2 separate regions of the Homo sapiens genome follow, and region 2 is linked to region 1. The links are contacts of gene promoters, found by promoter capture Hi-C in blood cells and fetal thymus (Javierre and others, 2016). All regions are on one chromosome and are shown on one strand. Each heading gives the region's core, a stretch centred on a gene start or on the middle of the fragment in contact. The rest is flanking DNA. Distances are from core to core; before and after follow the strand shown. Region 1 holds the start of RNF157 (ring finger protein 157). Region 2 overlaps FBF1 (Fas binding factor 1).

Region 1 (3,010 bases), core at 1-2,500:
CAGCTACTCGGGAGGCTGAGGCAGGAGAATCCCTTGAACCCAGGAGGCGGAGGTTGCAGTGAGCTGAGATCACGCCACTGCACTCCAGCCTGGGCGACAGAGGGAGACTCCGTCTCAAAACACAGAAAAACAAAAACAAAATATAACCAGGAAAGACCTAGACTCCGTAAAATAGCTTTACAAACCTAATCAAGGGAACCAGACACCCCAAACTGTACTTCGAACACTGTTGAAAAGTTGTGAAAGTCATGTTCTAGCAGTTGAAATGTTTGCTGATCAGTCCACTCTCTCAGGAAAAAAAACACCAGACCCACAAAGAAAATAGAAGGTTTAAAACACAAATGTCTGTAATTAAGCAATGGAATGACGTCTTCCGCCGGCCCAAGCTTCCCACTGTTGTGTGTGTTTTTATCAACAGGAGCTCCCGGTTCTGCCTGGCCCGGTTCGCTTTCGCCTGCGTTGACTCTCTTGGCACTCAGGCCTTTCCAAAGTTTCCGGGGTCCCGTTTCCACGATACAGACAGAGGCTGGATGTCTTGATCTTATCCTCAGTCGATGTTCTCCTAACTTTAGGGCTACAAGGAGCCTTAAACAGCATGTATAGAGTTGGGAGCGCTTTGAATAGACGCACGTGAGAGGGAGGCGGCATCTTCCTAGCCGGTCACCAGCATTAACACGGGGCAGGAGACATGCGAATGCACCGTGGGACCCCTCTCCCTACCCCCCTGCATGAGATTTCCGAAGACCTCCGCCGGCCGACGCTGAGGGGCGGGGTTGGGAAGGCTTCCTCCAGGCGCGGGAGCAGCGGAGCGGGGACCGCCCGCTTTGGGACGCCCAGGACAATGGCGAGCGAGCTCCCGGCCAGTCCTCGCGGACCGCGGGAGGGGGCGGCTCCCTGCGCGGTAATCCGAGCCGGGATAAACAGGCGCGGAGGGGCGACGCGTCCCGGCCGGGTGCAGCGCTCGTCTCCTGGGGTCCCAGCTCCGGCCGGTCCCGCCCCGCCCCGCCGCGGGCACCCGGCCGCGCCCCCGTCCCCGTCGCGAGTCCCCGCCCACGCCCACGCCCCCGCCGCGAGGCCCTGGGCCGCGTCCACGCGCGCCGAGTCCAGCCGCGGCTCCCCGCGCGAGGCACGCGCCGCCGGCTCCTGCTGCAGTCCCGCGCTCATTGGCTGCTCCGGCGCGGGCGCTCCCGCCCCGCCTCGCCATTGGCTGGGGCCGCCGCGGTCCCCGCGCGGAGCGGCCGCTGACATCACGCGGCCTGAGGCGGCGGCGGCGCCCCCGGCCCAGACCCGCAGCCCCCTTGGCAGAGGCGCCGCCGCGGTGCCCGGCGGAGGATGGTGCGCGGCGCGCCGGGGGCTCCCCGCCGCCAGAGCCGCAGCGCCGCAGCGGAGCCGGCCGCGGCGGGCAGTCGGCCCCCGCACCGGGCGCGGGGCGGGCGGCCGCGGTGAAGCGCGGAGGGCGGCGCGGGCACCGGGGCCGGGCCGGGGCTGCAGCCGCAGCGGCCATGGGGGCCCTGACGAGCCGGCAGCACGCGGGCGTGGAGGAGGTGGACATCCCGTCTAATTCCGTGTACCGCTACCCGCCCAAGTCCGGTGAGGGCGGGCGGGCGCCGCAGCCGCGAGGAGGGAGAGGGGCAGGGGCAGGGGTCTGGGTCGGGACGGCCTGAGGGGGCCCCGCGGGTCTTCGGGGACTCAGTGGTTGCGGACGCTCCGAAACGGTCTTCGAGCGCGGGAGGTCTTCGAGAAGGCCGAGGTCTCCCCCGCCCCGGGCGAATTAGCCCAAGGGGCGTCCTGCCGGGTCTAGCAGGGTCACCGAGGGCACCGAGCCCCTCCACGGGAGGACGGGAGCGGCCTCCATTGTAATCGGCCCCGTGACGGGGACGCGTGCCCGCAGGGACCGAGGCTCCTGGGGAGCGGGGCTGCGGCGTCGTAGGCGAGGTCGGCGCCCCGCACGGACCCGGCCGGCCCGGCCCAAAGCCTACCTGCCTCGCGGGGTCCGAGGGCCGCGAGGGAGGCGACCTCGGCATCCAAACAGGCACTTGCGCCAGGTGCTATCCCTGCGCTGCCGTCTCCTGGCCTCTGGAAAGGTTAGAATTAGGTTTCTCCTGGAAAAGCTTCCATTGCCTGCTGAAGGATGGAAGCCAAACAGGCATTTGCAGTGCTGGTGCTTTTGCAGAGGCTGTCAGAAGCCGGGGGGTGGGGGGGGTGGTGGTGGTGGAAAGTAACAGAAATGTTTGGGAATCTGAGTATCAGAGTTACTCGGATTGCCCCTTTGCTAGCGTAGTGGCAAGCCTGGGTTTTGGAGTGGGACCAGCTCTGGGACAGGGCAGAGGTATTGGAAACGTATAGAAGTATGTTTGTTATTAGAATCATCCCTTCACTTAAATGTCTCTAGCCTCTGGATTGTGGTATCAGCATTGGAGGTGGAGGAGGATTTTGACAGCAAAGCAGAGAATCACAAGGTAGTTCAGTTATGTGAGCACCGGCCAGTATGAATTGCATGACCTAGCCGGTGTTTACTTTTAATTGCAAGTAGTTTTATTTTAATTAATTACTTTTAATTTTATTCTCAAGACTTCTGAGGATGAATGGCTGCGACATTCTGTCTGCTTAGGACCCGATGGAGATTTTGGTGATTTCGGAATGAGGTGTCAGAATTGGAGCAGAGCCTCGTCTCTTTTTGGTAGAATAGAGACATACTGAGATGAGCTGGTTTCTCAGCAGTGTGTCCAGTGTCTGCCAGGTGAAAGCAGGGGCCAGACGATGAACCTGCCCGCATCCCTGCAGAGTGTCTGCCAGAGCTGTGTTTCTCACTGCTTTTGTACCAAAGAATGAATCCTTGCAAAGATGAATATGGTGAAGAATTGTTTTAGAAAGGTCTAAGATAAAGCTGTGGGTCGTTAGTATTTTAATAAAGCTCTGACTGATTATGACTACATAAAATCAACGCTAACCAAGGCATAGATTTTGTTTTTTAATAGACAAAAATATTCTTAGGGCGGCATGAGGAAAA
Region 2 (3,056 bases), core at 394-2,893, 310 kb after region 1:
CCTCCTGGTTCAAGCGATTCTCCTGCCTCAGCCTCTTGAGTAGCTGGGATTACAGGCACCCACCACCACGCCTGGCTGATTTTTGTATTTTTAGTAGAGATGGGGTTTCACCCTGTTGGTCAGGCTGGTCTCAAACTCCTAACCTCTTGATCCACCCACATCGGCCTCTCAAAGTACTGTGATTACAGGCTGACCCACCGTGCCCAGCCAAAGAAAATAATTTTTGTATTTTTAGTAGGTAATTTTGTATTTTTAGTAGAGACGGGGTTTCACCACATTGGCCAGGCTGGCCTCAAACTCCTGACCTCAAGTGATCTACCCGCCTCGGCCTCCCAAAGTGCTGGGATTACAGGCGTGAGCCACTGTAAATAATGCCCAAGGGCTGCCGAGTGGACCCAAAGCAGAATCCTCTTTCCTGTAGTAAGATGAGTGGAAAGGAGAGCTCCCTGAAACTGCTAGAGTCTTAGATGTTGCTCCTTTCCCCTTATAAACTCCATAGCTGTCCATTGGCATGGGTGGGAAGTAGCAGAATTTCAGTCCTGGATGGAAGAGTTCTCTATGGTTGGAAGGAGTAGGAATGGCAGTGCTCTCTGAGTCTCTAAAACCAGGCAGGTTTGGCTTCAAACAACTGCCAAGCCCAAGCAAGGGGAACAAAGCCACCCTCCTGTGTAAGCTCCATTGGCCAAGCTCTGCTCCTGCCGCGCCGTCTGCCCTAACAGAAGCAAGGGGCCAGGACCCTGAGTTTTATTGGGCCTTGACTAATGTGCCTCCTCATCTGTGTCCTCACCCTCATTGTGGACTTAGGTTTCAGGTATCTCAGAGGCAGACCCACAGGCTCTGCTCCAGGCCATGAAGGTAAGGAAACAGCTTGCACGATTCTTAGAACTGGGGGTGGGTGGGGTGGGGTCATGATATTTTGTACCAAAGCTTCATTCTCCTTCTAATTTCTCCCTTTACAACCTGTGTTTCTGAGCCCTTCCTCGTGCAAGCATGGAACTCGTCTGTGAGCCGTTGGCCTCCTTGCCTTTCTGAGTATCAACCAGTGTTCCTGGTATATAGAGAGTGGAGAGTGCCACAGGCCTCTGGGGAAACGGGGCCAGCTCTACTCGGAGGCCCACCTAGCTGGGTCCCCTCACCTCCACCTAGAAGACAGAGGGGGAGACTCTTTCCTCTAATGCTTGTTCTTAATCTTTCTCCATATTTCTCTCCACATCCCCTGCCAAGCCCCCTTCAATACTGCTGTCTTCTCATCAGATCAAGCCCAGCGCCAATCTTTGCAATGGATTTTTAAGGCACAGATTCTGAATAATTTGTAAGGACATAATCTCTAGCTTGGCCTAAGACACCTTGTTCTCCCTCTCCTTCCAGCCAGCAGCACCTTCCTGTCTGACCCTTGGGGTTTTGTGTCCCTTTTAGTTAACCCATTTTGCCACAGTCCCTAGGACAAAGCCGCGTTTTTGGTTACAGCCCTGTGGGGCTCTTGTTTTTGTTGTGTATTTTTGTTTTTTGGGTTTTTTTTTAGAGACACCATCGCATTCTATCACCCAGGCTGGAGTGCAGTGGTGTGATCTCATTGCAACCTTAAACTCCTGGCCTTAAGCGATTCTCTTACCTTGGCCTCCCAAAATACTGTAATTACAGGCATGAGGCACCACACCCGGTCCAGATTCAGCTTCTTTAATCTCATCTTGAAATCTTTCTCCTCAAAGGCCAGGCACCTGTAATCCCAGAACTTTGGGAGGCCGAGGCAGTAGGCTCGCTTGAGCCTAGGAGTTGGAGGCTGCAATGAGCTATGATCACACCACTGCACTACAGCCTGGGTGGTGACAGAGTGAGACTCTGTCTTCAAAAAAAAAAAAAAAGTCTGGCATGGTGGCTTACTCCTGTAATGCCAGCACTTTGGGAGGCCATGGCAGGTGGATCACTTGAGCTCAGAAGTTGGAGGCTGCAATGAGCTATGATCGCACCACTTCACTCCAGCCTGGGTGACAGAGTGAGACTCTGTCTTTATTTTATTTTATTTTTAATTTATTTTTATTTTTTTGAGACGGAGTCTTGCTCTGTTGCCTAGGCTGGAGTGCAGTGGCATGATCTCGGCTCACTGCAACCTCCACCTCCCAGGTTCAAGCGATTCTCCTACCTCAGCCTCCCAAGTAGCTGGGATTACAGGCGTGCACCACCACACCCAACTAATTTTTGTATTTTTTGTAGAGACAGGGTTTCATCATGTTGGCCAGGATGGTCTCGATTTCTTGACCTGGTGATCCACCTGCCTCGGCCCAAAGTGCTGGGATTCTAGGCATGAGCCACCGCGCCCGGCCAATATCCTGTCTAAAAAAAGAAAAAAAAGAAAGCTTTTTTCCCGAGACCAGCCACCTAGGATCCCTGGGCATAACCCACAAGTCCTCTGACTCAATTTTTGGTGCTGACTTTGAGTCTCTCATCCCAGAACCATGAGCTGGACTCCATTCCACCTCCCCCTGCTTACCTTTAGTTCCATTTTCTTTCTTCACTCACTGTTTTTCTCAACAGTTTTCTCATTTTCCTTTGTTTTCTCACAATTCTACACCTGGGGTGCCAACAGCCCATCTCTCTCAGGTGGAAGTCCTCAGCCCCTTATCAGACATAGTCCTCTGCCCTCCCTCCCTGGTTTTCTAGGACCTGGACGGCATGGATGCTGATATCTTAGGTCTGAAGAAATCTAATTCAGCCCCTAGCAAAAAAGCTGCAAAGGACCCTGGGAAAGGAGAGCTGCCCAACCACCCCAAGCCTGCAGGTGGGTCAGTAGCCAGTGAGAAAGGTGCATGGGAGACGGCTCCTCGCATCTGCTAGGGAGACTTTGAGGACGTGGAAGATGCTAGTAGGAAGCGTTCATGTCCTTGGGTTTTCTCTGCACAGGATGGAGAGGCCAAGGAGCATTTGTGCGTGTGTGTGTTTGAGTGTGTGTGGTGGGGTAAGGGGACAGCTTGAGTTTCCTCCCTTCCTCGAGCTGTTCCAGGCCCTCTGGGTCCAACATGGGCAGCTCCTGGAGAAGCTGTGTGAGTTAAAATGGAGAA

What was found. Contacts are between HindIII fragments. The CHiCAGO score rates a contact against its expected background, and 5 or more counts as called.
Region 2: a contact is called between a fragment that was not itself captured here and the fragment with the promoter of RNF157 in region 1, in 1 of 17 cell types (endothelial precursors). The highest score is 5.0, in endothelial precursors.

The regions. Positions count from the first base shown.
Region 1 is chr17:76,238,733-76,241,742 of GRCh38, reverse strand. RNF157 (ring finger protein 157) reads left to right here and starts at 1,250. Exons shown (of 19, transcript NM_052916.3): 1 at 1,250-1,590. The coding sequence starts at 1,503. LOC105371896 (a long non-coding RNA gene) reads left to right here. Exons shown (of 6, transcript XR_007065913.1): 6 at 1-881. RefSeq lists silencers at 1,076-1,145, 1,166-1,305 and an enhancer at 1,610-2,282. The HindIII fragment of the contact is 1,725 bases long and covers 389-2,113 here.
Region 2 is chr17:75,927,796-75,930,851 of GRCh38, reverse strand. It overlaps FBF1 (Fas binding factor 1), which reads left to right. Exons shown (of 30, transcript NM_001319193.2): 7 at 805-855; 8 at 2,659-2,776. Among named protein-coding and RNA genes, the nearest start is that of FBF1, 12 kb to the left of the region's middle. The HindIII fragment of the contact is 1,427 bases long and covers 930-2,356 here.